Regions from separate parts of the Homo sapiens genome. Here regions 1, 2, 4, 5, 6 and 7 are each linked to region 3. Evidence: promoter capture Hi-C in 16 types of primary human blood cells and fetal thymus (Javierre and others, 2016). All regions are on one chromosome and are shown on one strand. Each heading gives the region's core, a stretch centred on a gene start or on the middle of the fragment in contact. The rest is flanking DNA. Distances are from core to core; before and after follow the strand shown. Region 1 overlaps MFN1 (mitofusin 1). Region 2 holds the start of ZNF639 (zinc finger protein 639). Region 3 holds the start of ECT2 (epithelial cell transforming 2). Region 4 holds the start of NDUFB5 (NADH:ubiquinone oxidoreductase subunit B5). Region 5 overlaps PIK3CA (phosphatidylinositol-4,5-bisphosphate 3-kinase catalytic subunit alpha). Region 6 overlaps SERPINI1 (serpin family I member 1). Region 7 overlaps TTC14 (tetratricopeptide repeat domain 14).

Region 1 (3,771 bases), core at 312-2,811, 6.6 Mb before region 3:
CACCAATGTACGCCTCCTACTCTCCCTCTAGGAATGATGGAGTTGAAAATTTTGGAAGACGTACCTGATCACTGCCTTTTTCTCCCCGCCATAATCCAGATAATTGTCAAACTTAAGAAAGACACTAAAGAAAATCACCTCTAAATTAGCCAGGTACAGTGGCTCACGCCTGTAATCCCAGCACTTTGGGAGGCCGAGGTGAGTGGTTCACTTGAGGTCAGGAGTTTGAGACCAGCCTGGCCAACATGGTGAAACCCTATCTCTAATAAAAATATAAAAATTATGCTGGGGCCAGGCGCGGTGGCTCACGCCTGTAATCCCAGCACTTTGGGAGGTCGAGGTGGGCGGATTGCCTGGGCTCAGTAGTTCGAGACCAGCCTGGGCAACATGGTGAAACCCCATCTCTACTAAAATACAAAAAAAAAAAAAAAAAATTAGCCAGGTGTGGCAGCACACGCCTGTAGTCCCAGCTACTAGGGAGGCTGAGGCAGGAGAATTGCTTGAACCCGGGAGGCGGAGGTTGCAGTGAGCCGAGATGGTGCCACTGCACTCCAACCTGGCAACGGACTGAGACTCTGTCTCAAAAAAAAAAAAAAAAATTTAGGCTGGATGCGGTGGCTCACGCCTGTAATTCCAACACTTTGGGAGGCCAAGGCGGGTGGATCACCTGAGGTCAGGAGTTCAAGACTAGCCTGGCCAATATGGTGAAACCCCACCTCTACTAAAAATACAAAAATTAGCCAGGTATGGTGGCACACGCCTATAATTCCAGCTACTAGGGAGGCTGAGGCAGGAGAATCGCTTGAACCCGGGATGTGGAGGTTGCAGCGAGCCGAGATTGTGCCACTGCACTCCAGCGTGGGAGACAGAGTGAGACTCCCTCTCAGGGGGAAAAAAAAAATGCTGAGTTTACTTGGGAATCAAAAATAAAGATTATAATCTGGAATGCATGGAATGGCATACCAGTGCATTCAGTGAGGGTAAGAGGGGTTTCTATTAGCAAAAAGAGATTTACATAAGCTGCCTAGAAACAAGAGTTATTTGGTTCCAGAGGTTCAACGCCAGTTATTGTCAGTTCATTGGCGGAGATGCCATTACTGGGCAAGAACTCTCCTGAAAACATTTTATCTGAATTAAGGCAGTCCTAAAGTATGTTTATTGATAAGTCTTATCAAAGCAGGAGATTTGAAAGAATTTCTAGAAAGTCCTTGGAAATAGTTATCTCAGACAAGAGCCTCTTTCCTTCTAGGCCTGTCTAGGTATGACAAAAGTGATTTCATCCTAGCTTCTGAAACTTTCACATAATCAAGTAAACTTAAAAGAGTAAAACACAAAGTATGCTTATCATTTATCTATATTTCCATTCTTAAAACTGTCTACAAGCCAATTCTTAGAGATGAGAATCATTAAAAGGTAAAAATATGATTGACTTTCATAAAGCTTCATTTTATACCAGGAGGTAAAATGCACAAATTCTTTCACATGCTAACAGCTTTAACATTCAACACAGGCAGAAACTTGCGGGGCTGGGGGAGGATGGGAGAAATATTACTTGTTGAAACATCAGACACAAAGCTGATTCCTGGAAACTAATCTTAGAAGTAATAATAAATAATTACCTGCCAAAAAATGCCACCTTCATGTGTCTCCGAGATAGCACCTCACCAATGATGGAAAGCTTGTCTTTATATCCTTGCATTTCTACCAGATCATCTTCAGTGGCTATTCGATCAAGTTCCGGATTCTTATATGTTGCTGCAAAATTGAAATGGCATTAGAAAAGTGATATAAATGAATATTAAGTTAGTTATATAATGGAATACCTAAGATTGTATGTATTTTTGCTTTATGTTAACATGCCACCCACAGCATCTCAATGTTTGGTAAAAGGTGCATACTCCGTGGCAATGGGTCACAAGAATCCCGCCCAAAAGAATTTCAAGAATATTAAAAGTTGCAAGGGCACAGTCAAAAGTGGACTTCTAGGTCTCAAACATACAAGCTACCCTTGAGACAAGAATACATTTCTAAAGAGAGAAACTAGAACCTAACACTGACCTATTATTGTTCCAACCTGACTGAATGGATCTTCAGATCTTGAGCTCAGAAGGGGGAGCCACATACTGAGAGAAAAAAGTGAGGTTTGAATAGGAGCCCCTCAGAAATTAAGATACAGTGCAAGGTCTCCAAGCTAGGAAAGACCTTGCTACTTTACCACGTTCTATCTGCTTCCCCCAGGGATGAGGTGAAACAGCTCACTTAACACAAAGACAGAGAAGAAAGAGAATTACAGGTTGTATCCTATCTACAGCCATACCACCCTGAATGCACTCGATCTCATCAGATTGTATCCCACTTTCACTCTTATCAGGTTTAGGGTTTAACCGCACATCCCAGCCCTCACCTCTCCTCCATGGCTGGAGGTAGTTGAAAAAGCCTGGGTTTGAAAAATAGAAAAATCTTTCAGTTTTTTTTATAACTCAGGAATAGGAGATAACCTGATGTTTACATTCTTATCACCTCTTTTTGAAGGTAAAGACATGAAGATTCATGTGGGCGTGGGGGCTCACGCCTATAATCCTAGCACTTTGGGAGGCCGAAGTGGGCAGATCCCTTGAGGTCAGGAGTTCATGACCAGCCTGAACAATATGGTAAAACACCATCTCTACTAAAAGTACAAAAATTAGCTGGAAATCACTTGAATCCGGAGGCAGAGTTTGCAGTGAGCCGAGATGGTGCCACTGCACTCCAACCTGGGTGACAGAGTGAGACATCGTCTCAAAAAAACAAAAACAAAAACAAAAAGATTCATCTGGCTATCTGAATGACCCTAATTAGAGACAAACACTGCCACTTAAAACTTCTCCAGTGCACATCCAATTAAGCTTCTCATATCTCACCATACTTTTCTAACGCATTAATAAAATATGTGCAATTTGGTGAATAACGGACAGACTGGTTTAAGTATCATTACATTTATTTTTGCTTTTCATTTTATTTTTGCTCTTGTATGTTTTTCTTGATTTATTTGCTTTGTCTCCTTTTTGCAACATTTTTACTGAGGTTCTAAAACCTGTACAACTGAATTCAGATTCTAAAGCTGTCATTTCACTAGTGCCTAGCATGATGCATGATCTATAACACGTACAATACACATTTAACTTCATTTTCACTTCCTATTATTTTTAGAAAAAAAAATATTTTTAAAAAGTCAACTGTGCCAGCTCAAATTATTTCCTAATTGGAAACAAAGATTCTATACTACTATTTTTTTTTTCTCATTCAGCATTGAATTGTGTCAAGTCTGGTGCTAGGAATACAATGAATCCCAGGCTCCTGCCCTAAAGGAGCTCAAAATATGGTAAGAGAGGGTTGGGAGAGACATGAAAAAAAAAGTTTGATTCCCAATCTACCAAAGGTTTCCCCACTGTCGCTGGAAAAATTTACAGAATCCCTCCCTTTCCATTGTATAGTTGAGAGGTGCATAATCTTTTTTTTTTTTTGAAATGGAGTCTCACTCTGTCACCCAGGCTGGAGTGCAGTGGGCGACTTCGGTTCACTGCAACCTCTGCCTCCCAGGTTCAAGCGATTCTCCCTCCTCGAGCCTCCTGAGTAGCTAGGATTACAGGCGTCTGCCACCAGGCCCAGCTAATTTTTGTATTTTTAGTACAGACAGGGTTTCACCATGTTGATCAGGCTGGTCTTGAACTCCTAACCTCAGGTAATCTGCCGATCTTGGACTCCCAAAGTGCTGGGATTACAGGTGTGAGT
Region 2 (3,947 bases), core at 366-2,865, 6.6 Mb before region 3:
AACGATAACCAAATGTCTATCGGACTTCCTTTCAGCACAATGGTGATGCCTACTCAAGACCAAAAATGCTAACCATCCTTCATTTTAGCAATCATTTTTATGTGCCTTTTGTGTGCATAACAGCCTTGAAAAAACTTAGCTTTCTACTCAAGGATGTCATAAACATTTGCTCACTAGTCTTCTTAGCAGGAAGATTCTGAATCACAAGCAACCTATCACAGTCCCCCCTCCCTCTGAAATACAAACGACATATGTAACACGTGTCACTGCAGAAAAATCAGAAAAATGTTTAAAAATTTTTTATATCACCTAGAAACCAACATCTTTCCACCTGTCATTTTTTTCAACCAACAAGAAAGTCTATGCACAAAATAGAATACATACAACAGGCAGTCAGCAATCATCAAATAGATAAACGTTTCAAAAGGCCTTTCATGCAATGTATATTCTTCCTAATTGCTGTAAGACGTCTTTACAGTAAATAACTCCATTTTTAACGAGTTTAAAAAGAGTTAAGCTTTCTTTTTCGTTCTCATTAAAATAAGCATATGCTTTAAATTGTAAAAGAATTGAAACAAAAACATGTTGCAGGAGAGCCTGAACTAGAATCCACTACATGTCCAACGTGGAGGCAGTCTTTACTGCAATATCACACGGTCACTAAATACTTGATTCGCTATTTTTCAGTCCGGCATAAATCTTTCTCTTCGAAAAAAACAAAAAAGGCATAAACTGCTTCAAATGATTCGTTTCCCTAGACAGTACTTAAAGACAAAACCAAAAAAGGGGGTTTCTAAGCACCGTCACACGAGTGAGGCGACTCTCAGGCTGGAGGCTTTGGGCGCCAGCATCGACGCCTGCTCTCCGCGGCTACAACTCGTTGCGCGAGCCCGGGGATTCGCCGCCGGAGGTCACGAAGCCGCCGGGCAGGGCCGCAGCGCCAGCGAGGACCCAGGATCGTCCCGAGCCCGGACGCAGCCAGACAAATGCCCGTCGGAGGCGCAGGGCAGAAGTCCCTGGGACTTAGCCGCCTCCACCCCGGCGCCACGCACCAGCTTCGCCCGGGCCCAGAAGCCGGCGCCAAGGAGACTTCCAAGCCCCGACACCAAAGGTTCCGTAAAGACAACGGCAGCAGGGGGCCGAGGGGAGCCCGGCCAAGGCGTCCTGCGCAGGGGGTGGAACTGCCTTCGGGATGGGGGAGGGGAACGCCATCCCGCCATATAACGAAGGCAGAGTTTCCGTATAAAGGGAGCTCCGGTCTCTCCCGCCCTCTCCCGTTAGAAGATGCGCCCGCACGCCCGCGTCCCCTGGAGCAGTCCAGCGCCCGACCCACCCGCTCCTCCCTCACACTCACCAGTCAGTCCCCCGAGGCCCTCCCGGCCGGCCCACGCAGAGGCGGCGGCGGCCGAGAGCGCAGGCGGAGGGGCCGCGCGGTCCTTCCCGCGGACGCACGGCGGCGGGCAGCGCTGCTCCGGCCCTAGCGCTCCCGGACGCTGTGCTGGGCCGACCCCTCTCCCTCCCCGCGCGCCCCACGCCCTGAGCGCCAGGCCCCTGGCCTAGGCTCCGCGGCCGCACTGCCCTGGCCGCCACGCTCCGCGCCTGCGCCGCGCACCTCAGGGGCCCGCCGAGAGGGCGGGGAGGTGACGAGGTGAGGTGGGGGCAGGGAGCGGGCTGCGCGAACGCACCGCACACGCGGCCTGGGAGGGACCACCGGCCCGCAGCCCCGGGGGAGGCCCAGCGGCCCGCGCCCCCTGCCGGAGGCCTTGCGCCGCCGCAGTCTCCTTCTGGGCGGGGAAGAGCCCCTCCCGAGCCCCGAGGGCGATCCCACCCTCTAGGATTACTCCACGCCAGGCGGCCAGCGAATTTATCCCGCCCGCCTCCACCGCCCCTTCAAGCCCTGGGGAACTGGGAGAAACGTGGCGCGCAGCGGCACCTTTCCCACGCTGCTCCTCAAGGGAAAGGACGCGAGTGGTCTTGCCCAGGTTAGGCAAGGCAGATGGCATCTCAGACCCCGAAGTGTGCCAGCCGCCTGTTGGGGACAGAGAGGCCGAGGACCTCGTCACGGTTTTACTGAGGCCACACCAGAGAACCACCTAGGGCTAGGATGCTGCCCTCAGGGCAAGAGGGTGAAACCTGAAGACTGCGAGTCGTTGTTGAGTTTCACCCGATTCCTTGGCTCGAGAAATAGTGGAATGAATGAGGAGTTAAGGGGGACTGGACTCGACGATTTAAGTCCTTTCTCGACTTTGACTTTCTTTGAGCAGCTGTAGAAATGATTAAATTACACGAGCATAAATAAATTTGTGAACATGGTTCCATAAATGATCTCTGTGCAAGTGTGGTGATATGTTTAATTCAGTCCTTTTGACAATGAGTTGAGGTTTTTAGTCACATTTTACAAAATGGAAAAGTAAATGTGTGAGAAGCTAAAGACTGGGTCTTAATTCATTTTGGTAGCCTAAACCCCTGAGGTTCAAACGGTTAAGAGGATGACTGAGAGCCATGTGGATTATCAGGTACCCAAGGTCACTCGGATAGTTAGGGCTGCAATGATGTCTCTTTGTTCACGTCCACTGCTTTTTCTGACAACCACATGCCAATCAACCAATCAATCGCTGGAAAGTAATAATCACAGACTTTACTCTGATCCCTTCACCATCCCCCAGGAGATAAAGCTATATTTGAAAGAGACACTACTTGTTTGTGAGGCTCAGTTTTTATGACCTCCTAAGTTTTATGTGCGTACTCAGCTCAAATAAATGCTCACGAATGCTAGTATGGCCCGAATTAAAGTTCGAAGAAATGTAGAGACATTTTTAAATCCTAGAATAGTTAGTATCTAGCACAGAACCGGGAATCGGTGGAAACCACAAGGGGGTGTCATGCCACCATCTTACCATTTTGCCTTACCACATAGCCTTGTGTCCAACAAAATCTTTATATTTCAAAATGAAGTTTTACTCCAAAACATTTTGTAGTGAAAGTAAACGCACACTCTCCCCAGCATCCCACGTATTGTTTGCACTTAGAGGAGCTTGACTTTGTTTAGATGTTGTTTAACATAGTCACAAATTGCAAGCAATTTCAAGTTCTTGATTAGCTGGAGTGTTTTTCAGTTTCATTTTTGGGTCCCTCTTTTCCTCATCTCCCGCTCCAAGGGAGGGTGATAGCTGGGATAAAACCCTAAAATCTCAAGAGTGCTAAATTGTAGAGTTTGTTAAATACTATTATAAATTTGATTCAGGGCTATTAAAACATCGTTCTTCCAACTTTTTCACACACTTGTAGAATAGCTTAATTTCTCCTTCCTTTCCTTCCTTCCTTTTCTTTTTTTTCTTTTTTCTTTCTCACGGTCTCACTCTGTCGCCCAGGCTCCAGTACAGAGATGGGATATCGGCTCACTGCAATCTCCACCTCCTAAATTCAAGCAATTCTCGTGCCCCACCCTTCAGATTAGCTGAGATTACAGGCGCGAGCTGCCACACCTGGCTAATTTTTGTATATTTAGTGGTGCTGAGATTTCACCATATTGGCCAGGCTGGTCTTGAGCTTCTGGCATCAAGTGATCCGCCCGCCTTGGCCTCCTAAAGTGCTGGGATTACAGGCGCGAGTCACCGCGCCCGGCCACTTAATTTCTTCCTGATTAGAAAATAGTTACGTTTTTAGTACAGAATGGAGACAACAGAAAAGTACAAAGAGCAAAAGTAAATTTACCATAATCTCACAACCCTGAGCTCATCAATGGTAACATTTTGCTTTCTATCTTTCCGTTATTTTTATACCTATACTGACATAAAAATTTGTTTTCAAAATTAGAATATTGGCTGTGTTTTTTTCTAACAGGTTCTTTTTTCCAATTAGTATAGCACGAGCATTCTTTATGTTTTTTGTTTGTTTGTTTGTGTGTTTTTGAGACAGAGTCTTGCTCTTTCGCCCAGGCTGGAGTG
Region 3 (4,166 bases), core at 87-2,586:
GCAGATGATTAATAAAAGGGAGGGAGCATAGCAGATGATCGAAAGCAGATGATTAATAATTAAAATTGCCCCTGATGATACTGTATATGATCAATTTATTGCCAAAACAGCTTCAAAATGTATAGAGAAAAAGAGATGCACTACGGTAACTTGATGACATAACTAACATCCAACAGTCAGATTAGAAATGGAAATATATTAATCACTTTTTTTCAAATTACTGTATTCCAGAAGCCTTTAAAATAAGCACAATAGGATCAGTGTTCATAAACCTACACAGCTTCTCACCCAAGAACAGACCCAAGGAGCTTCTAACTAAACACACTATAACACATGCCCCCTTTTATCCCAGAGATAAAATTTGCCATGTAAACAAACATTCAAGTTTCCTTTTACTTAAATACTTTTTAGGCAATCATCTTCCAAGGTGAAGGACTAAAATGCAATCCAAGATATAATGGTGGTGTTATTAACAATAACATTACTATTAACAACTGACATTTACTTAACGCTTAATACGTGGCAGACATTGTCCTAAACCTTTTAATCTCTGCAGTAATCCTAAGAGGCAGGTACTATTATTATTTTCAATGTATGGATGAAGAAACGTAGGAACAGAGAGGTTAAGCAACTTCCCCTAAGTCAAACTGTTAGTAAGGGGTAAAAGAGGTATTCAAAGCCCGGCTAAATCCAGAGGCTGCGCCTTTAACCACTAAGCCGGACACATCTGTGCCGGGTGGCTGGGGAGGACGAGGGGCGGATGGCCTGGATTTATCTTGCAAAAACGAAAAATTAAACTTCCCGCAAAGAAGCCAGGATGAATCCTAGAATAAAACCACGGCGCACTCTGAGATAAGCCCCCAAAGGCTGCAAGTGCCGGCCCCCAAAGCCACAGGGCTGCGCGGCTTGCCAAAATCCCTTTCCCAACTCCCTCCCTTCACCCACACTCTTCTGTCCAAAAGAGCCAACAGGTGAGGGCGAAGATGCCCAGCAATACTGGGGGCTTCGGTCTCCCACTCCGCGTCAGGGCCCGGCTGCTGGGGGTGGGGTGCGGCGAGGGAGTTCCCGGATCCGGGAAGCCTGAGCTGGGGCGCTCCGGAATTCGCGGTCACTAGGGGCGGGGACGTCGACCGCAGGCAAAAGAGCCCTTGGCTCTGGAGCCGCTCGCCCACTTGCACCTCTCTCACTCACACAGAGTCCTTACCACTCTCAAAAAAGCCCTAGGAGTTCCACCTCTTCAAACGCCGACTCCTCTCACAAATACCGCCATTCCTCGCCGGCGGCCGCCACAACCGATTCAAAAACTAAGCTGCTCTCTCTAAGAGCCATGCCGATTGGCGCGTGATGTCAACCTCTTTCCCATAGGCAGGAGTCTCCAGAGGGGCGGTGATTGGTCGACGCTCTCCAAGTCCCGGCAGGCGCCGCTTGATTGGTTGTGCGTGTGTTTCAAATAAGCCCAACGACTCGGGCGTCGGGACGCCAGGAGTTTGCAGAGAAGTGCCCGGATGTGGCCAGGAGGTGGCGGTGGTGGCTCCTGAGGTCTTAAAGGAGTAGCAGGTGTTTCTGTGACTACCGCATATTTACTCAGTAAACATCCTACTTCCTGAGGAAAGTTTGGGTGGATTCTCCTCGGCCCCACCCAGCTTTTTTTTTTTTTTAAACGATACCAAATCTTTTAAGCTTAAATCAGTGCCGCCAGAGATAAATGTTTCCCTGCTGCTTGCTGTGAGCTGTAGGATTTTCCTATCGGGATGCTTTCTGCTTTAGGAATGTATTTAAATTTGAGTTAAGGGATTTTGACTTTGATGGTTGTATTGGCGTGTGGCAGGGCCAAGGACCGGTCCTAGAACTCGGACTCCCCAGGTGGACTTCAAATCAGCAGCCGCTTATTTAAATGCTATTATTTAAAGCACTGCGCTCCCATCTAGGGAGTATCGCGGGTTAGAATCAATTCTTAGAAATTAGAAAAATTCTCGGATTTTTTTAAAGATAAGCTTGAATTTGATAAAAATATGCCACGAGATTCTAGAATTTTTGGAGCCAAATTGCTTCGTCTTTGCCCCCCTCCGCCCACTAAGAACTTGTACTTTCCCCTAAAGTCTAGTCAAGAATGTATCAAGTTTTTCCTGTGATTAGCGTTGCTATTATGAAAATAATTTCTTTATTTTCTAAATATGATACCATATAACACAATCTCTTAAGAAAAATACACCCCCACCAGGTGGGTTTTCCATAGTTCCCACCTGAAGGCTAATATAAATAGAAGAAGAAAGGGGAATCAGATGCCAGAACCTAAATACCAATAAGAAGAGGCAAACGTGTACTTTGGGATGGAACACTTGTGAGCATCTCAAGCAGGTTGTGGGGACTTAACAATTTTTTCTAATTTTGTCAGGCAATCTTAGAATGCCTGAAAAGTTTATAATGCTGTCCACAAAATGAATGAAGCAATCTGGTAATTATTGGTTTCCCTGCTTGTCAGTATTTAAGTCTGACCTTCATTAAAATGCTGTGATAACTGTTACGGCAGAAAAAAAGAAAAACAGTAATTGAAATTTCCATTTGGAATGTGCTTGCGTATTTGGAAGTCGGGTGTGCCCAGCATTCCAAAAACGTTCATCACTGAAAACATATTAAGCTATTGTGGGAAGCAGCCCTACTTCCTTTGTGCACCGCTTTCTGCTCAACAGACTTTCCAAAGCTAATGATTAACTGTGTATGGTATCATTGCCATGAATTTTAAGCTTCCCTAACAAAAGCTGTACTTGATTTCTTTTAAGGGATGTGTGGCAGTTAGATTAACAAATAAACGGGTAATACAACCTTTTTCACTCTCTTAGGTCTTCATTTACTCAGCAAATATTTACTAATTTTAAGACAGCCATTGTGCTTGTTGGGGTTATAAAGATGAATAAGGCATAGAAAACTGCCTGTCTGGACCACACAATCTGGTGAGGGAAATTAGCAGATAAACAGATAATTACAGTATAAGGGAGAGAAGAAAGAGAATGAACATACTGATACTTTACTATGCACTTTATACCTTATTTAATCCTTAAAACAACCCACAAGTAGGTATCATAGTCCCATGATACCATGAAACTGTAGGAAAGGTTTAAGTAACTTACCCAGTGTCTCCTAATAAATATTTTAGCCCGCATTAGAACCCAGAAATAATAGATGAGTGTAAATAAAGTCTAGTATAGATCTGTCTGCAGGCTCAAAGAAAGCAATGTGGAGAGGAGTATTTCAGATAATCGTGTGCATAGGTGATCATATGCCACTTAATTGCACCTAGCAGAGGGCTGGTGTCTGGTAAAGTAAAACATGATCCCTCATCTTCAGGTATTTTCAAAAAGCTAGTACTGCAAAGGCAAATGTTACACATTGCTCTCTAATAAACACAGGAATCTTCACATGTAGGTACCAAATAAATATTTCGAGAGTGAATGAGCTAGATCCAAGTTCATTCATAATGTTTGAGAGACTGGATGTCCTGATTAACCTAATCATAGTTTATTCATTTAATAACTATTAAGCACCCATTAGGTACTATGCTAGCACTGAGAATATAGGTGTGACAAGACAAATATGGGCCTTGTTCTCATGGCACTTCTAGCAGATAGCTGTATTTGCGGTGAAAAATTTATTGCATGCATAGGTTTTCACAGAATTCAAATACCTACAAAACAATGATACAAGTAACTTAGTCTTACTGAGTCAGAAGCTGTTTCAAGTGCTATAGTGTTTCAAGATCAGCATTATGAAAAATTTTTAAATACTATATACGGCATAGGCAATTGAACTGAATGGCATATTAACCTTGAACTTTTTTAAAAACATAAATTCTTAATATTAGCTTGTTTACGTGCACTTTAGGCTCTCATAAAAGCTCAATATATATAGGAGACAGTAAACAGTTTGGTGTGGCTGGATCATAATATACATGAAGAGGACAGTGGAAGACAACTGACATACGCTAGGTTAGGCTAGGTGTGGGGGCTCATGCCTATAATTCCAGCACTTTGGGAGACTAAGGCAGGAGGATCCCTTGAAGCCGGGAGTTCAAGACCAGCCTAGGTAGTGACTGCACTCCATCCTGGGCGATAGAGCAAGACCGCCCCTCCCCCCCACCATCCAGCCCCCATCTCAAAAAAAAATAAATG
Region 4 (4,279 bases), core at 1,246-3,745, 6.9 Mb before region 3:
ATCACCCCAGCACCTGGATCCATTTAAATTAAGTAAATTTACTAAGGCTCCAGAGGAAGGTCCTCAGGACTCAGACCTTAATTATAGATTTTAAAAAGTTAGTCACTTTTGTCTTTAGATAAGTGCACACTTACATGTAGACATATAGCTTAAAAGGTCTACAAGCTCTGGAAAACTGTAATTTTAAGTTGGTCTGGCGATAATTTCCAGGACTTCTCCCTGTAACCAGTTACAGGAATAAAAACTCTCTTCTGGCAGGGCGCGGTGGCTCATGTCTATAATCCCAGCACTTTGGGAGGCCAAGGCGGGCGGATCACCTGAGGCCGGGAGTTCAAGACCAGCCTGGCCAACATGGTGAAAACCCATCTCTACTAAAAATACAAAAAATTAGCCGGGCATGGAGGTGTGCACCTGTAATCCCAGCTACTCAGGAGGCTGAGGCAGGAGAATCGCCTGAACCCAGGAGGCAGAGATGGCTGTGTGAGCCAAGATCGCGCCACTGCACTCCAGCCTGGGCAACAGAGTGAGACTCTGTTTCAAAAAAAAACAAAACAAAACAAAAAAAAAACTCTCTTCCTCCCCAGTTCATCTGCATCTCATTATTGGATGGCAAGAAATAGCAGCCTGACCTTCAGTTTGATATGAGAACACGGGAAGCCAGGGGTTGCAGTGAGTCAAGATGGTGCCACTGCACTCTAGCCTGGAAGACAGAGCAAGACTCTGTCTCAAAAACAAAACAAACAAACAAACAAACAAAACCTAGATGCAACCCAATTGACAGATGATGGATAAGCAAAATGGGGTAAATACATACAATGGACAACGGACAATTCAGCTTTAAAAAGGAAGGAAATTCTGACATATGCTACGACATAAATATGCCTTGGGGATATTATGCTAAGTGACAGACAAATATTATATGATTCTACTTACATGAGAAATAGAGTAGTCAAAATCATAAAGACAGCAGAATGGTGGTTACCAGGGGCTACGTGGAAGGGGAATGGAGAGTTATTGTTTAACGGATACAGAGTTTTAGTTTTACCATATGAAAAAAGTTCTGGAGTTGGATGATGGTGATGGTTGCATAGCATTAGGAATGTATTTAATACCACTGAACGGTGCACTTAAAAATGGTTAAAATAGTAAATGTTATGTGTACTTTACCACAATTTTTTTAAAGGCTACTGCTGCCAGGCACTGTTGATTTTTTCCACTCACTCTTCACAACTACCTTTTGAGGCAGGTTAAAATTCTCATCTTTTTTAAAGAGGAGGAAATGCAGGTTATGAGCAATTAGGTGTCTTCCACTTTAGCTTCCAAGATGTGATGATCACAGACATGGCTTCTGAATTCTAGAGCCAGAATTTGAAGATAGGCAGTCTATCTCCAGAAAAAACAAAACAAGACAGGCTCTCTACTACATTAGAGCTTACATTCTTGTAGGGACAGATATAAACAACCATGTAAGAGATTAAAAGCTTTCATATCACAGTGACAGATGCAAAATACCTTTGAAAGCAGGTACACAGCTGAAAACACAGTAACCTTTAGTAAACATAGCTATTAGAACCTTCCCTGCTCTGATTGGAAAGGGCGCAGAACACGGTAATGATCCTTTGAGAACCCCAAGAAAGGGCAATAATGTGGAAAGAGAAACTGGGGGTGAAATTTTGCTGCAGTTTATCTCCAGCTGGATTTGATTGAATACTACCAGAGCGAGTATTTGAAGGATTTGTATTTGGCTATATGAGAATATCTGTAATCAGAAATGGCTTATAAAGGGATTTTCATCAAGGAATGTAGTTTTGTAACAAGTTCAAATTCCTGCTGGAAATTTGTTAAATACCACTGGTTCTTTGCATCATGTTTCCAGCAAATCCCTATGTATATTGCCTCATCCTGTGGAGTGGCATAATTCAAATTAAACTGGGAGAATAGGGGTAAAAAGAGAACAAGATATTTTGAGGCTGGAGACAACTTTCTGACTTTAAGTGTTTCACTTCCTCTTTACCTGCTTCTATTGCACAGGGCAAATAGCTTACAGTATATATCTAATGAAGAGGATTAAATAAATTAATACTTTAAACCCTTAAAATGATGCTTGAGGTCAGGTGGGGTGGCTCACGCCTGTGATCTCAGCACTCTGGGAGGCCAAGGCAGGTGGATCACGAGGTCAGGAGTTCGAGACCAGCCTAGCCAACATGATGAAACCCCATCTCTACTAAAAACACATAAAATTAGCCGGGCATGGAGGCGTGCAACTGTAATCCCAGCTACTCAAGAGGCTGAGGCAGGAGAATCGCCTGAACGCAGGAGGCAGAGGTTGCAGTGACCCAAGATCACGCCATTGCACTCCAGCCTGGGCAACAGAGCAAGACTCCGTCTTGAAAAAAATAAAAATAAAAAAGGATGCTTGACACGTAACAGGTGCTCAGTAAATGTTGGCTATTATTTAGTGACACATTATTTAATAATTGAGTCAGTTTCCTCATCTGTAAAATGAAAATAACATTGTAATTTCTTTGCAGAGTCTCTGAGATAATAAAGTACACTGAATATCAAGCATTTGATCTTTGCTATGATTATTCACACCGCCATGATGCAACTCACTGTCTCCAAGGAGGTCCAAATAGCCCTATTAAGACTGTATTGGTCAGGTGCAGTGGCTTACGCCTATAATCCCAGCACTTTGGGAGGCTGAGGTGGGCGGATCATTTGAGGTGAGGAGTTCGAGACCAGCCTGGCCAACATGGTGAAACCCCATCTCTACTAAATATACAAAAATTAGCCAGGCGTGGTGGTGTGCACCTGTAGCCTCAGCTACTGGGGAGGCTGAGGCGGGAGAATCGCTTGAACCCGGGGGGTGGAGATTGCAGTGAGCCAAGATGGTGCCACTGCACTCCAGCCTGGGTGACAGAGTGAGACTGTCTCAAAAGAAAAAAAAAAAAAGACTGTATTATGACTTTCCTGAGACCTAGGCACTTTTGCCTTCAAGGGCCCCTTCGTCTAAGTTATTAAAAATAATATTTTATGACTGCATTGGTATAAAACGAACATAATACAGGCTGGATTCGTTATCATATTCATAAACATTATGGTTTTTTTAAAAAAGAAATTTAAATTAAAAGACTTTCGTAGACCCCTAAAACTATCATGGGTTCAGGCAGGAGAATCGCTTGAACCCAGGAGGCGGAGGTTGCAGTGAGCCAAGATCGCGCCACTGCACTCCAGCCTGGGCAACAGAGTGAGACTCTGTCTCAAAAAACAAACAAACAAAACAAAACAAAACAAAAACCTCTCTTCCTCCCCAGTTCATCTGCATCTCATTATTGGGCGGCACGGTACTTACTGTGCCTAAAGAATAAGTTGGCCCTGAGCCTCTTTACCTGTCTACATATTACCTGTCTTCATATTCCTTAGCATAGGTGGGCTTCTCGGCAAGATGACTTTGCATCTGTGGGACTAGAACCTAGCCTTTGGGCAGGTGGAACGCAACAATAAGCTTGTGCCCTAGAGATACAGATCTCAGCTCTATACCTTTCTAGACTCAGCTTCATCCGCAAATTAGCATTAATTGGGATGGTGAATAACAACGTTTTAGAAATGCTAATAATGTAAACACGATCTATCTGGCTACTTCAGGAAAACCCCTCATATAGCTCGTGCTCCGTCTCTCCTGTCAAGCCCCAAGCCCACAACTTGTCCCGGCTCCCTCCGGATCCCACCAAGGTCACCCTGGAAGCGTCCTCCCTTTTCTCGCCCCGCACCCGCTTCACGCCCGTTCTCCCTAGGCCAGCACCCACCAGCAGCCTTCGGAAAGCCACGAGTGAGGAAGCCCCCAAATCCGAGGCGAGTGCCAAGGGGCCGGCCAGACAGAGCTGCCACCGCAGTAACCGAAACCCGCCGCAACAAACTCATGGCCGCCATGGCTACTACGGGCAGGAGGAAGAAGGGAGGCGGGTCACGGAAGCTGAGAGAGCCAATTTACCAATGAGGACAAAGGCAGGATGTGGCCATCTTAAGTGAGGGCAAGTTTTCTATTCTCCTCACCGCCGGCTTGAGACGCCGGAAGTGACGCTATCGTTGGCGGAAACGCGTTTTGCCAGTTATGCGAAAACATGGCTGCGGCCGGTTTGGCCCTTCTTTGTAGGAGAGTTTCATCCGCCCTGAAATCTTCCCGATCGTTAATAACTCCTCAGGTCCCTGCCTGCACAGGGTAAGTGATGTATAAAGTAGGTTTGCCCACCTCTCCAACTTTGGATCTTGTTTGGTTGCC
Region 5 (3,765 bases), core at 799-3,298, 6.4 Mb before region 3:
ATGGAGGCAAAACCCACGAATACAAAGGGCCAAATCTGTGCTCAATAAATGATCAAATAAGACTGGCACACAGCAATTTACCTGCTTTTCAGATAAAGCGTATGGCTCCTGATAGAAATATAAGAAAGTATTTTTATTTCTAAATATGATTCTATGTCACAAAGATCAGTGCTTACTGATCACCTACATTTGGACACTACAGTATGTGCTGAGGATACAATAAACACAACATTGTCTCCTCCTGTTCAAAAACATATGCCTAAAATCCTCTTCATAATAGTGCCTTATATTTTTGTTGTACTTATAAGACATATTCGTCCACTAAGCCTTGCTAACTCCTGGTGAGTTAGGAGAGTTATGATTAGAGCAAAATGATTCTATCCCTATACAGTTTTTTTCTTCACATCACAACACTGATTTCCTTGGCTTTACTATACAAATACTTAAAATCCGAAGTGTACCTGACAAGCATAGTCTGTAAGAATTCTTATAGATTTTTAAAAATCCCTAATTTATTTCAAATGGCAATGCTAGCCATCATAAAGACCCCTTTGTAACAATCGCAATAATGTACAAAAGTTGCTAAAACACAACCTCTTATAAATGAGTACAATTTAAATTATCAAGCTAACTACCAAAGTGATGCTTGAGAAATGAGTACATTGTCAGGCCAAATATAAAATATTATGCTTCTGTTAAATATAAATTTAAAATAATAATTAGTATGTGCACATTTTTTCCTAGTTTTATGCAACTTGTGATTATTTGAATTATCTCATTATGTTACTTAGCAAGCAACACATTACAATTCCTATTGTATCAATATAGAAAAAGACACAAAAATGTGTTACAATCTGTCCCCCACCATATACATATACAAAGTAGCAGTCCGAAGGGGAATTTAGTCCCTTAGGCCAGTGGTCCCCAACTTTTTTGGCACCAGGGAGCAGTTTCGTGGAAGACAATTTTTCCATGGATTGGGGAAGTGTGGGGGCGATGGTTTGGGGATGAAACTGTTCCACCTCAGATCATCAGGCATTAGATTCTCATTAGGAGCAGGCAACCTAGATCCCTTGCATGTGCAGTTCACAATAGGGTTGGTCCTTCTATGAGAATCTAGTGCCGCTGCTGCTCCGACAACAGGCAGAGCACATGTGGTAATGCTGGCCCCACTGCTCACCTCCAGCTGTGCAGCCCGGTTCCTAACAGGCCAGGGACAGGTACTGGGTCTGCTGGCCAGGAGGACCCGTTTTAGGCATCTAAACCAGAGCTCTCTAATACGTATTAGACACAGTTTCACTTTAAGAACTATTTGAAGAAAAAGATAGCTCTAAGCCACCACTTTTATTACAAACTTACAAACTTTTTATTGGAATATTTTAACTTAAAACTCCCTAAACTGTATAGGTAGAGAGGGAAAGAAAGAACACCTAAAAAGTCCTTAACCAGGATCAACTGATTCACATAATAATTAAATGTGAATAAGGTATACAGTGATAAAATATTAGTATATCCAATAGCTGAATAATCTTTTTGAATGATGGAAATCTCTAGCCTTGAAGCTGAATCCTCAGACTTTAACTATATATTGCCTCATATTTATCTTTTATATCCTAACACTTCAGTTTCCCCCATCCACAGTTTTTAATTTTTATTACAGTATTTCTTTCGAATAAGTTACTTATAAAATTCACTTTCACATAAACTTAAAGGAAAACTCAGGCAAGCAAATTTGATTTATACAAAAATAAGACTGGTAACAAGAAACTTCTGCAGAGCAATGTTTTGAGTATCCCTTATCCAAAACACTGGAGATTTCAGATTTCAGATTTTGGAATATTTGCATATACATAATGAGACATACTAGGGACCCAAGTCTAAACATAAAATTCATTTATGTTTCACATACACCTTATACACACAGGTTGAAGGTAATTTAATACAGTATTTTAAATAATTATATGCATGAAACAAAGTTTGTGTACCTTTGACCACCAGAAAGCAAACATGCCAGGTGTAGAATTTTCCACTTATGGCCGTATGTTGGCACTCAAGAAGTTTCAGATTTTGGAGCATATAAAATTTCAAATTTTCAGATTAGGGATGTCCAACCTGTATTACATTCTGTGTAAGTTTACTTTCAATATTACCAAATAAATAAAGGTGATATATATAACACAATATTAAATTTTAAAACACAGTTCCCAAGTAGAGAAAGGTATCAATAACTTCAGTCTGCTGATATCTGTAACCGCTAATCTGAAATTGAAAACATTATTTGTGCCTATGTTCTGGAATTAGTCCTGACCAGAAGACCAATTTTTCCTATATTTCTTATATCACCTGAAAATTACTAAATAATGGCTCCTGAATTTTAAGGTTTGGTGAACAGAGACTTCACCAAAATCTTTGGATTTTCTTTTATAAATCATCCTTAATTTTGTTTCCTTTTTTTAGAATGATGAAGTCTGATTTTACTTATCTTTGGAGACAGTGTAAGTTCATCAGTTTAGACTGTACCCTCCTGCATATTATTATATATGTGTGAATAGTTTGGCACTTGCTATTCTCTCTTGGTTGAAACTTCCAGGCATAATTATTTCCCAAGCAGGTTGACTAACACCTGGGTGTTTGACAGTGGAATGGGGTTCTGAGAGACTGAAACCAAATGTCACAGTGTTTTTTGGTCCCTAATCACACCTGCAGTGCTAACAGTCAGCAAAGTGGAAAATAGGATTTATTACATAAACTGTGTCCTTCTGTTATCTCAGATAAGTCCACTCATGAGATCTAACACTTCCTAAGGAGAAAGGAAATGAACATTTATTAAGCACCTGATCCAGGGCAAGAACTCTCTTGGATCTACATTATCTCATTTAATTCAACAACTCTGTTGAATAGTAATCACCCCCATTACAGATAAGAAAATCTGTCCAAAGTAATCCTGCCAGTAAGTTTAAGAACTAGGTTTTGAACCATGGTGCCTCAAATTCCAAAGCCAATACTGTTGATACTCACAGAATTTTAAGGCTAGATCACTGAGAACCATGTAGAGCACCTCGTACAATCCCTCTGTATTATACATGACACCCAAAGAGATTGAGACGTGCCCAAATGTTTGTGGTGAAACAGGGGTAAGAATTCAAGTCTCCTTATTTCCAGTGCAGTACTATATATGATAATAATCTTCATTTTTTGCGTGTGTGTGTATATGTCTGAGGTGGAATGCCACTCTATACAATTTATAACATCTCAACTGTCCCCAAATGAAATTCGTATGTGTGGCAATTTCAGGGTTGTACATTTTTAGTGACCAAAAATATTAAATGAAATTGGCAAGAATAAAAACTGGTGCTTATGAATCACTACATGTTTTAAAGAAGTCTGTCTCTACTATATTTATTTGTTTAGTCAAGTGCTGTAATGTACAGGCTACTGTGCTTGGCAATAAGAATACTACTGTACAGTATATAAGATAGGAGTCCCTATCCTCATGGAATTTACAGCCTGGTAGAGGATATGGACAAAGAAATAGGCAATTACAATGCAGTGAGGTTAATGCTATGACAGTGGGAGTACACGATGCTATGGGAACAGGAAGCAGGGATACCTAACTCAAGCTAGACTTTTCAAAGGAGGTGATGTGAAAGATGAGTAGGAGTCAACCAGTTAAAGAAGAATGGAGTGTTCAAATGTCTCAGGAAGTACAAACTGTATTTGCACAGGAGAGTATGAAAAGACCAAGGGAGCTGCAGGAGTAGGGAG
Region 6 (4,166 bases), core at 824-3,323, 5.0 Mb after region 3:
AAAGCAAACAACTACTCTCCTCAGACTTCTTGTTCTGGAAAAATAAATCCCTATTGTTTTATCTCATTGTGCATAAAACTTGTAGCTGAAAGCGTTTCTAGTTGATCTGTACTTTACAATTATTTTTTAAATTGTTAATCACTTTTGGGCCATGCAATGTGAGGAAAAATTTGCTTTTAAGATAATCCTGGATAAGATTTCTTTCTCTCCTTTTCAAAATGTTCAATTTTATATTACTAATTATTAATTAAATCTGCTATTATATTAACAAATAGCTATTATTTACACCTTTAAAGTTATTGGCATTTTAAATTTTTTTCCTTATTTATTTTTTAAATTTTAAGGCTTTTTCTTCTTATCTAGATAACTAGTTATTTGCATTTTTAAAAGAACATATCAGAAACTCTGAAATACAAAAACAAACTTTGTTGCCTTAGATTTAGTTAATATACCTTGTGCACAAAATCTCATAATATAATTTTTTTAAAAGTTTCGTAATTTACCAAAGCCAAAAATTATTCTATGACATTACTGGTATTATATAATTTCATCTGGTATTGTATGTCAAAGGACATAAGATATAAGATACTATTTAACCTGCCACAGACATTGAATAAGGGATTTAACATCTGTAAGCAATTTAGGAGACTAGGTACAGGTTTCTTAACTGGAAGGTTGAATATATCTCAAAAACACTAATTGCTTCAATGATTCTAAATTGCTTCGTGAAGTACACAACAATTAAATGCTCCAATAACTGATTTAATTCAAGTAAAGGCAAAAATTATACACCACAATATGGTATCTCTAGCATACTACTAACGGGTATAAAAACAATAAAATTAGCTAGCTCTTCAAGTTAGAGCTGGTTAAAAGACCTCAAAGCAACAAAATCTAGGTTATCAAGAAAATGACAGAAGCAATCCAATGTGGGTAAAATATCAGAAATGTTTTAGTGGGCTCTTTGGGGTCTGTTCAAGAAAAGCCAAGATGCTAGGAGTGGACTACAAGTTGATAGGTACTCATTGAATTGCCTGGCTGTGCTATAGAAATCACTGTGTGACATTTGAGCTACTCTTACTGGGAATCCTGGTGTGAGATATACCTGGGAAAAACAATACAGTTTAACAAAATAAGGTTATTAAATGAAAAACATTTCATCTGTTTTCCTTCCCACATTAAGAGCTGTGAGGAGCTCAGAAGTCTCCTTTCCCAGGCAGAACCAGAAGGGGGCCTCAAAGCAGTGGCTGAAACTGAAGGTACCCTGTAAGCTTCCACCACCAAGCTATACACAGAAGACCAACACTGAGCACTGTCAATGCCAAGTCTCAAAACTCATTCGTTCTTCATGATGGCTCAGAGATGACAAATACCTGTATAATTCAGGTACAATGTAAGCTTTACTAAGGTCTCTCAATGCAGCCTTTTCACTGAAAATGGAACATTTACAGCCAGTTAAACTTTAGTTAAGGCCTCATATTACATTCATCTATTTATTTTTCTCTATTTGTTAAGAAAAAAGTAATGGAAATCGTGTAGGGGAGGGGAGGTATTACATAAAAGCACATCTTTAAATCAGCAGAGTTCTAGAGGCAAGGAGAGAAAAGGACCACATAAACCCCAAATAGCATCTAATGAATAAATTCATGTCTGAAGCATGCGCCCATGCACGCACACACACACGCACACAAGCGCGCGCGCAAGTTTGCAGTTAATAACAAAATTTGTTCTACTCATTTAGAAATCCAACAAGATAGCAATATTTATATTTAGCTGTAATATAAGCAACCGTTGTTGGCAGAGGGCTGAATTTGGTACTAACACAGATGTCTAAGAAAAAGTCATTTTTCTAGTTGTATTTGTTTGCAAAATGATGTTTCATTATAGATTACCAAATAGTTATCCAAATTGTTACTACTTACCAAGTATGAACTATGTAAAAGGATTCTCAAAATGAATACAAACGTCAATGAAACTCAGAGTTAGCTCTAAAGATACTAAGTATCTGGTGAGAAAGATAGTATGAACTAAGTTTACTCTACACAAGGCACAGTGCTAATCATTAAGAATAATATCAGCAAGGCATGGTGGTTCACACCTGTAATCCCAATTCTTTGGGAGACCAAGGTGAGAGAATTGTTTGAGGTCAGGAGTTTGGACCAACCTGGGCAACACAGTGAGACCCTTATCTCTATAAAAAGTTAAAATTAGCTGAGCATGGTGGTTCTTGCCTGTAGTCTTAGCTACTGGGGAGTCTGCGGTGTGAGGAGTGCTTGAGCCCAGGAGTTCAAGGTTACAGTGAACTATGATCAGGTCACTGCATTCCAGCCTGGGCGACAGAGTCAGACCCTGTCTCAGAAAAAAAAAAAGGCGGCAAAAAAAAAAAGAAAAAGGCAGGTTAATTATCAGTTCTAAGCAAGCCAATTTATATAAATCAACATGAAGGTAAAAGTAAACAGAAGATAGTTAAATATGTGCTACAATTAATTTTACTACTAAAAAACTATATACAATTAACTAGAATTGTATAGGTCTTATCATAATGAAGTAAAAATTACATTAGATTCTTAATTCTAACACCAATCAGATTAATTTGTTTCTAGGTCAAATGCAAAAAACAACTAATGACCAACTCCACACATGCTTAAACAAAATCAGTCTATTTTTTTTTTGGAAGAAATAATTAGAAAAACAGAAGAGCAAATTCAGTTTTTATAGAATGAAATATGGTTTCTACAGATAAGCTTCAACAAAGGTATAACTCCAGGGCCTTGAGGTTAAATGGTGGTTGAGCCCTGGGTTTTTCTGTCTGTGAAATTAAGACCTTAAGTGCCACCAGTTGCAGACTCCTTTACCCTCGCCTATATATCCTATCTCTGAGATGAATTTAGAAATGCTGGCACTCAAATCTGTAATGTATTTGCAGCGCACACAGTGTGAATCCAATTGTGCTCAATCAACACTTTTGCAAAGGCAAACTAGCATAAAGACATTCTCAGAAGGACTAATGTGTAAGCAATCATTCTGTGAGGTCAGCTGACTCTGTCTATCAAAGCGCAAACTGTCTCAATGTGTGCATTACAGAAGTATTGTCCAATGTCCAATGGTTCTAATTCAGTAACTGGTTACTCAATTTCTTTATGCTGAATATGACATAAAGTGCTCAGGACTAACAGGAGATAGAAAAGAAGTACATGGTCTCTAAGAGTTAATAACGTAGTTACTTAAAACACACCTTCCAAATTTTAAAGACTAAATTCTTACAGGTTTAAGATTTAAAAAAAAAAAAAAAAAAGAAACAACAAAAAAATCTCTCCCTTATTTGTGTACGTTAATTCTGATCCCAAAAGCAGTGTTTAACCTTTGGAATTTGCTTAATTAAATAAATGGGCTCTTGCTCATCTTAGTGTCTGGTTCAAGTACCTTTATTATTTTAAAGGGGCAAAACATCAGTTTAGGTATTTACTTTTTGATATTTTGTCCAAATAATGTTTCACTTAGAAGTTAGTGTATACAGGTAGGATTTTTATGGTTAATAATCCATGAATATTCAAAATCTAATGAATACCAGTTTGATTCCAGTTAAAATGGCAATTGACTGGAATCAGACTGGTATTCATTAGATTTTGAATATTTATGGGTTATAAAAGCATAAAAAAGGAAGGTTAATCATCCAAAATTTATTCCAGTAAAAATTGCCATTTTAACTGGAATCAGACTGGTATTCATTGGATTTTGAATATTCAATTTTACTTAGAAAAGTAATGTATCCCAGTATGAATACAGGCCTCTACAAATTAATGACTGGGGGAGAAAAGGTCATGGAATCATGGATTATAGGAATTTAACAAAAAATATAAAATCTTTTTTCTCTTTTGCTAAAGGTGTGTTTCTCAAGTAGTTTTCTTTATATCTATTCCCCTGTATCCTTCTTTACCAAAACCATTTGATCTTGAACCTTTAAGTCTTGCTCTTTTGTGCTGCATGCATCAGTGAATCTTCCTGTTAAAAAGAAATCCATGCTAACTTATTTTTACTCAAAAGGCTTAGAATCAGAACTCTAAAGAAAAGACCAAAGGATATGGTAATTTGAAATTAACCAAGGTTTTTGGCTAAAGAACAATCATCCCCAGAGCAATTTCCATTCAAGAGAGACATTCTGCACT
Region 7 (3,974 bases), core at 351-2,850, 7.9 Mb before region 3:
AGCTTTCTTATAGTAACTTTCAGCATTTAAAAACTTTTCTTCTTCTTCTAACCTAAATTTGAAAGAAAGATTTAGCTTTTTTGTAAAAACAACAAAACTATCCAAATATGCATACAGGTCAAAGGCTTATATGAGAGAGCTTATTAGGGAAAAGCCAAGTAAATTATTTTCCAAAATAAAATACCAAAATAATATGCTTTTTACTGTAATTTATTTCATAGACCACATAAACAGAAATCTTACTAGTAACTAAAGGTATATGTCCAATATTGGCACATTTTTGCAGTAATACACAAAAACCCATGATAAATGGGTGTCCACAAATTTAGTATGATCTTGAATTTTAGCACAGAATTATACCAGCAGGCTTTTTTCCCTAGTAGTTTATGAAAAATTATCTACAGAAAATTTTGGAAATCTTTGGAAATACCAACATACACATATATCACAATGAGCCTGTAAATAGCATAATCATTAGATGAATTTCACAAGTCTGGGTTGTGAAACACCAGAATGAGAAAGTTTGGACATAAAGCAGTCAAAAGATGTTGCAAAGTGCTTTGGGTTCTTAGAAGGAAAAAGAAATTACTATAAAACAAATACAATGGGATCACTTTTGTGTCAGTAGACTGGATATGGGAAACAAAGGACAAGTCAAAGATGAACAGTATCTCTGGCTTAGGTAACTACAGGGTATTGCTATTCACTCAGCTCAAAGACATCAATACAAGGCTATAAGACAACCACATATAAGTAGTTACTAGTTATCCACCTAGTAAGTATGTAAAAAGCTGCTCCAATCATTAAATAGAAGTTCCTATAAATTATAAACGAATATTGCAAAATTTAATCAACTTGGAATTTGTGATCACAAACAGGAATGACTACACAAATAGTATAGTCATTAAACCAAAAACTTTTGAGTATATTATCTAGGAAAAGAGTATTTGCCTAATCTCTTGTACTTTCCCATTTATTTATTGAAACCAAGAGTGTTATAAATTAAGTGCTTAAGAAACTATTTCCTTAAGTTCAAAATTTTTTAGTGGTTGGTTGAACATTAGACCTCCACTATTAAACAAAATCTGATACTTACTGTCCTCCTCTCTCTACAAGTGTCTGGCAGAGGTATTTTCTTGCATTTCTGTGAGTTGGACAGTTTTCTAATGCAAGCTCAAAATCTTCTATTGCTTTGTTCAAACTTCCTTTTGTCGCATATCTAGAGACATGAAACAAAGATAGAGGGCTGTATCTCACAAGCTCTTCATAAATCTTGTTCGCATTTACCTGGTAAACATTCCTTAAAATCCATGTATGATTCACTTACAATGCTCCACGAGCTACCAAAGCTTCCACGTTTTGTTTGTCTATTTCCAAAGCTTTATTGTATTCATTCATAGCATCCACATGGCGTCCAACTTTAAAATAGTCAACTCCGATCTTCACACTAAAAAAGACATTTGTAAAGCATCACAAACACTTCAAACAATATCTAAATAAAATGTTAGTGTGAATAAGTTTTAAAAGCAAATGTCATCAAACTTGGCAAAATATTTAGTTTTCAGAGTACTCACAATATACCTAAGGAACGTTCTTCTGCCTTTGGACATTTTCACAACAAATATTGGTGAAACCTAGATATCAATATACTAATTCCTTTTGAGAAAACTGAAATGCTGAGTAAAACTTATCTGTTAAGTGTAAAATGTAAGACTACTTACATCTATAAAAGAAAAGCTCATGTCAAAAAGGCATCACTTTAATGCATCTCAAATTTGTCTTATTGATGATATAAGCATGCTTGCCTTGCCCTAAGCTTTTAGACTAGATATAATGCAATTGTTGAAAGACAGTCTTCATACCATTTTAAAGCCCAAGATGCGGATTGTTTTTTTCTCAATGCAGAAGCAAAATCATCTTCAGAGAAATTTTTGCTATTAAAGAAAATAAAAATTAAAAAGTTAAACCACAAATATTTTTTAAGTAACTATACTTAACTCTGCTTGACAGGCACTCGACAGTGAAAGTATGAATCCCAAGCAAGAAATCTGCATTCTATTTACATACCAAAATCTTTGAACTTTCGAAATGATTATTATTGTTAAACAGTATTTTTCTTGGCCAGGTGCGGTGGCTCACGCCTGTAATCCCAACACTTTGGGAGGTCGAGGCGGGTGGATCACGAGGTCAGGAGATTGAGACCATCCTGGCTAACACGGTGAAACCCCAACTCTACTAAAAATCAAAGAAAAAAAAATTAGCCAGGCGTGGTGGCGGGCACCTGTAGTCCCAGCTACTTGGGAGGCTGAGGCAGGAGAATGGCGTGAACCCAGGGGCAGAGCTTGCAGTGAGCTGAGATAGCGCCACTGCACTCCAGCCTGGGTGACACAGTGAGACTCCGACTCAAAAAACAAAAACAAAAAACAAAAAAACCCAGTATTTTTCTTTAGCATACACACAAAATTCTTATAAAAAGTTTCTGCATCCTTCTCTACTTGGTTACATGGTACACATATTAATCACTGATAAGACAGTCCAGTCCAGAAGATGGGATCACCTGGTTCATTCAACCTTTGGCATATGCCTGCTACTAGGTGGCTTAGGATGGTAAAATACGTCCTTCAGCTAAACGCAGCTTCTGAGCTTACTGCCACTCCCCTCACCATCTAAGAGTAATACTGATGTACTATACCTTTGTAGGCCTCTCATTAAAGATGGTGGATTAGATTCATCTATTCCTAGTTTTTCTAGAAGGAATTCAACTACTCCTGGATTAACAAATCCCAAGGAACTCTGCATGACATTTTCATAGGACTCCAAAGAATTGCTATTTAGCTCAACACTTCTCCTTAAAAAAATACAAACACAAAAATTGTAAAATGACTAATTTGACATTCCATTTCTAGTAAAGAAATAATATCATTTGAGGTTTAAATACTAATTCCATTTTTTGCATAAGATGGTGTGGCAATATTATGATATGGTTTCCTTTTACCAAGTCTGAAGTAATTTAACCGTTATAAAAATGTGGTATTCCTCAATCCAAGAGACTTTTGTAATGAACTGTTGTTGAAATAATACGGATAAATTACCTGTAGTATAAAGGAAGCTCTTCAGAGCTAATTACACCTAATTTAATACCAGATAGGTGTGGTGGAAGAGAAGAGCTATACAGAGATACTGCTAGCTTTTCATGGTATCTGTCAATATCCTTGATTCCAGCTTAAGAAAAAAAAAAAGAGAACTAAGCTGATTAGTAAGAAAATGTAAACTAACATAAAAAATATAAACTTTCCCAAACACTACCCTCTTAGACTGTATTTTTTTAAATTAATAAAAACAAAAATTCAACAATCATTACTTTTTTATTAGTATGATGAAACTAATCACCTCGAATGATGTCACCAGTTTGGTAATATGATAAAGGATCCCCATGGTTACTGTGAGAAGGCACATCTCTTAAGGGACAAAGAGCCTGTAATGAGAAGTATTTTAAAACACCAGACATTTCAAGCTTTGATAAGAACAGTGTCTTCTTTTATCTTAGTTGTTTGGTATGAAACAGCTAGTAGTTGAACAACCTAAAGTAAAAATTTAAATAAGGATTTAGTTAAAAGTAATTTCCGTGTCCAAACACAGTAAAATATGTTTGCTGGTTCAGTTAAAAAACTAAAATCTCATGAAACTTTCCATTAGTTTAGGAACCAAATATGATGGCTTATGACAGTATACAACATGCATCAAAAACAAACTAAAATTTGTCTAAAAGGTATAAGGATTCCAGTGAAAATGAAATGCCAATTCTCCAAAGTATTTTGTCTGTTATCCAATCTGTAATACCTTCTGCTTTTCTTCCTTTTTATCTGCCTGGATAGATGGCAAATACCCAATCTTTTATCGTGACACATTAGTTTAAATTCAGGACTATCCATCTTGGGCAAAGTATCTTAATATAATGTACAAACCACTTACAT

The links. Contacts are between HindIII fragments. The CHiCAGO score rates a contact against its expected background, and 5 or more counts as called.
Region 1: a fragment that was not itself captured here is called in contact with the fragment with the promoter of ECT2 in region 3 in 1 of 17 cell types (fetal thymus); the score reaches 5.5 in fetal thymus.
Region 2: a contact is called between the fragment with the promoter of ZNF639 here and the fragment with the promoter of ECT2 in region 3, in 6 of 17 cell types (fetal thymus, total CD4 T cells, non-activated CD4 T cells and 3 more). The highest score is 12.7, in fetal thymus.
Region 4: a fragment that was not itself captured here is called in contact with the fragment with the promoter of ECT2 in region 3 in 3 of 17 cell types (total CD8 T cells, naive CD4 T cells and fetal thymus); the score reaches 10.4 in total CD8 T cells.
Region 5: a contact is called between a fragment that was not itself captured here and the fragment with the promoter of ECT2 in region 3, in 1 of 17 cell types (fetal thymus). The highest score is 8.1, in fetal thymus.
Region 6: a contact is called between a fragment that was not itself captured here and the fragment with the promoter of ECT2 in region 3, in 1 of 17 cell types (non-activated CD4 T cells). The highest score is 6.9, in non-activated CD4 T cells.
Region 7: a contact is called between a fragment that was not itself captured here and the fragment with the promoter of ECT2 in region 3, in 1 of 17 cell types (fetal thymus). The highest score is 6.3, in fetal thymus.

Annotation. Positions count from the first base shown.
Region 1 is chr3:179,349,884-179,353,654 of GRCh38, reverse strand. It overlaps MFN1 (mitofusin 1), which reads right to left. Exons shown (of 18, transcript NM_033540.3): 3 at 1,620-1,755. Among named protein-coding and RNA genes, the nearest start is that of MFN1, 4.1 kb to the right of the region's middle. The HindIII fragment of the contact is 238 bases long and covers 1,443-1,680 here.
Region 2 is chr3:179,320,699-179,324,645 of GRCh38, reverse strand. It overlaps ZNF639 (zinc finger protein 639), which reads right to left and starts at 1,615. Exons shown (of 6, transcript NM_001303426.2): 1 at 1,355-1,615. RefSeq lists an enhancer at 656-705 and silencers at 1,276-1,415, 1,446-1,885. The HindIII fragment of the contact is 4,241 bases long and covers 520-3,947 here.
Region 3 is chr3:172,747,896-172,752,061 of GRCh38, reverse strand. It overlaps ECT2 (epithelial cell transforming 2), which reads right to left and starts at 1,336. Exons shown (of 25, transcript NM_001258315.2): 1 at 1,205-1,336. RefSeq lists a silencer at 921-990 and enhancers at 1,101-1,360, 1,381-1,430, 1,531-1,800. The HindIII fragment of the contact is 5,304 bases long and covers 1-1,682 here.
Region 4 is chr3:179,604,467-179,608,745 of GRCh38, reverse strand. It overlaps NDUFB5 (NADH:ubiquinone oxidoreductase subunit B5), which reads right to left and starts at 3,952. Exons shown (of 6, transcript NM_002492.4): 1 at 3,807-3,952. The coding sequence starts at 3,930. It overlaps MRPL47 (mitochondrial ribosomal protein L47), which reads left to right and starts at 4,108. Exons shown (of 7, transcript NM_020409.3): 1 at 4,108-4,219. The coding sequence starts at 4,122. RefSeq lists enhancers at 3,367-3,456, 3,487-3,646, 3,085-3,951, 3,827-4,026, 3,952-4,279. The HindIII fragment of the contact is 2,024 bases long and covers 1,484-3,507 here.
Region 5 is chr3:179,151,694-179,155,458 of GRCh38, reverse strand. The region is part of intron 1 of PIK3CA (phosphatidylinositol-4,5-bisphosphate 3-kinase catalytic subunit alpha); the gene reads right to left. Among named protein-coding and RNA genes, the nearest start is that of PIK3CA, 5.2 kb to the right of the region's middle. The HindIII fragment of the contact is 7,610 bases long and covers 1-3,765 here.
Region 6 is chr3:167,738,241-167,742,406 of GRCh38, reverse strand. The region is part of intron 1 of SERPINI1 (serpin family I member 1); the gene reads right to left. Among named protein-coding and RNA genes, the nearest start is that of SERPINI1, 4.6 kb to the right of the region's middle. The HindIII fragment of the contact is 1,346 bases long and covers 1,401-2,746 here.
Region 7 is chr3:180,603,726-180,607,699 of GRCh38, reverse strand. It overlaps TTC14 (tetratricopeptide repeat domain 14), which reads right to left. Exons shown (of 12, transcript NM_133462.4): 4 at 3,391-3,475; 5 at 3,093-3,222; 6 at 2,693-2,848; 7 at 1,863-1,934; 8 at 1,328-1,447; 9 at 1,097-1,219; 10 at 1-52. Among named protein-coding and RNA genes, the nearest start is that of TTC14, 3.6 kb to the right of the region's middle. RefSeq lists a silencer at 1,954-2,209. The HindIII fragment of the contact is 437 bases long and covers 1,382-1,818 here.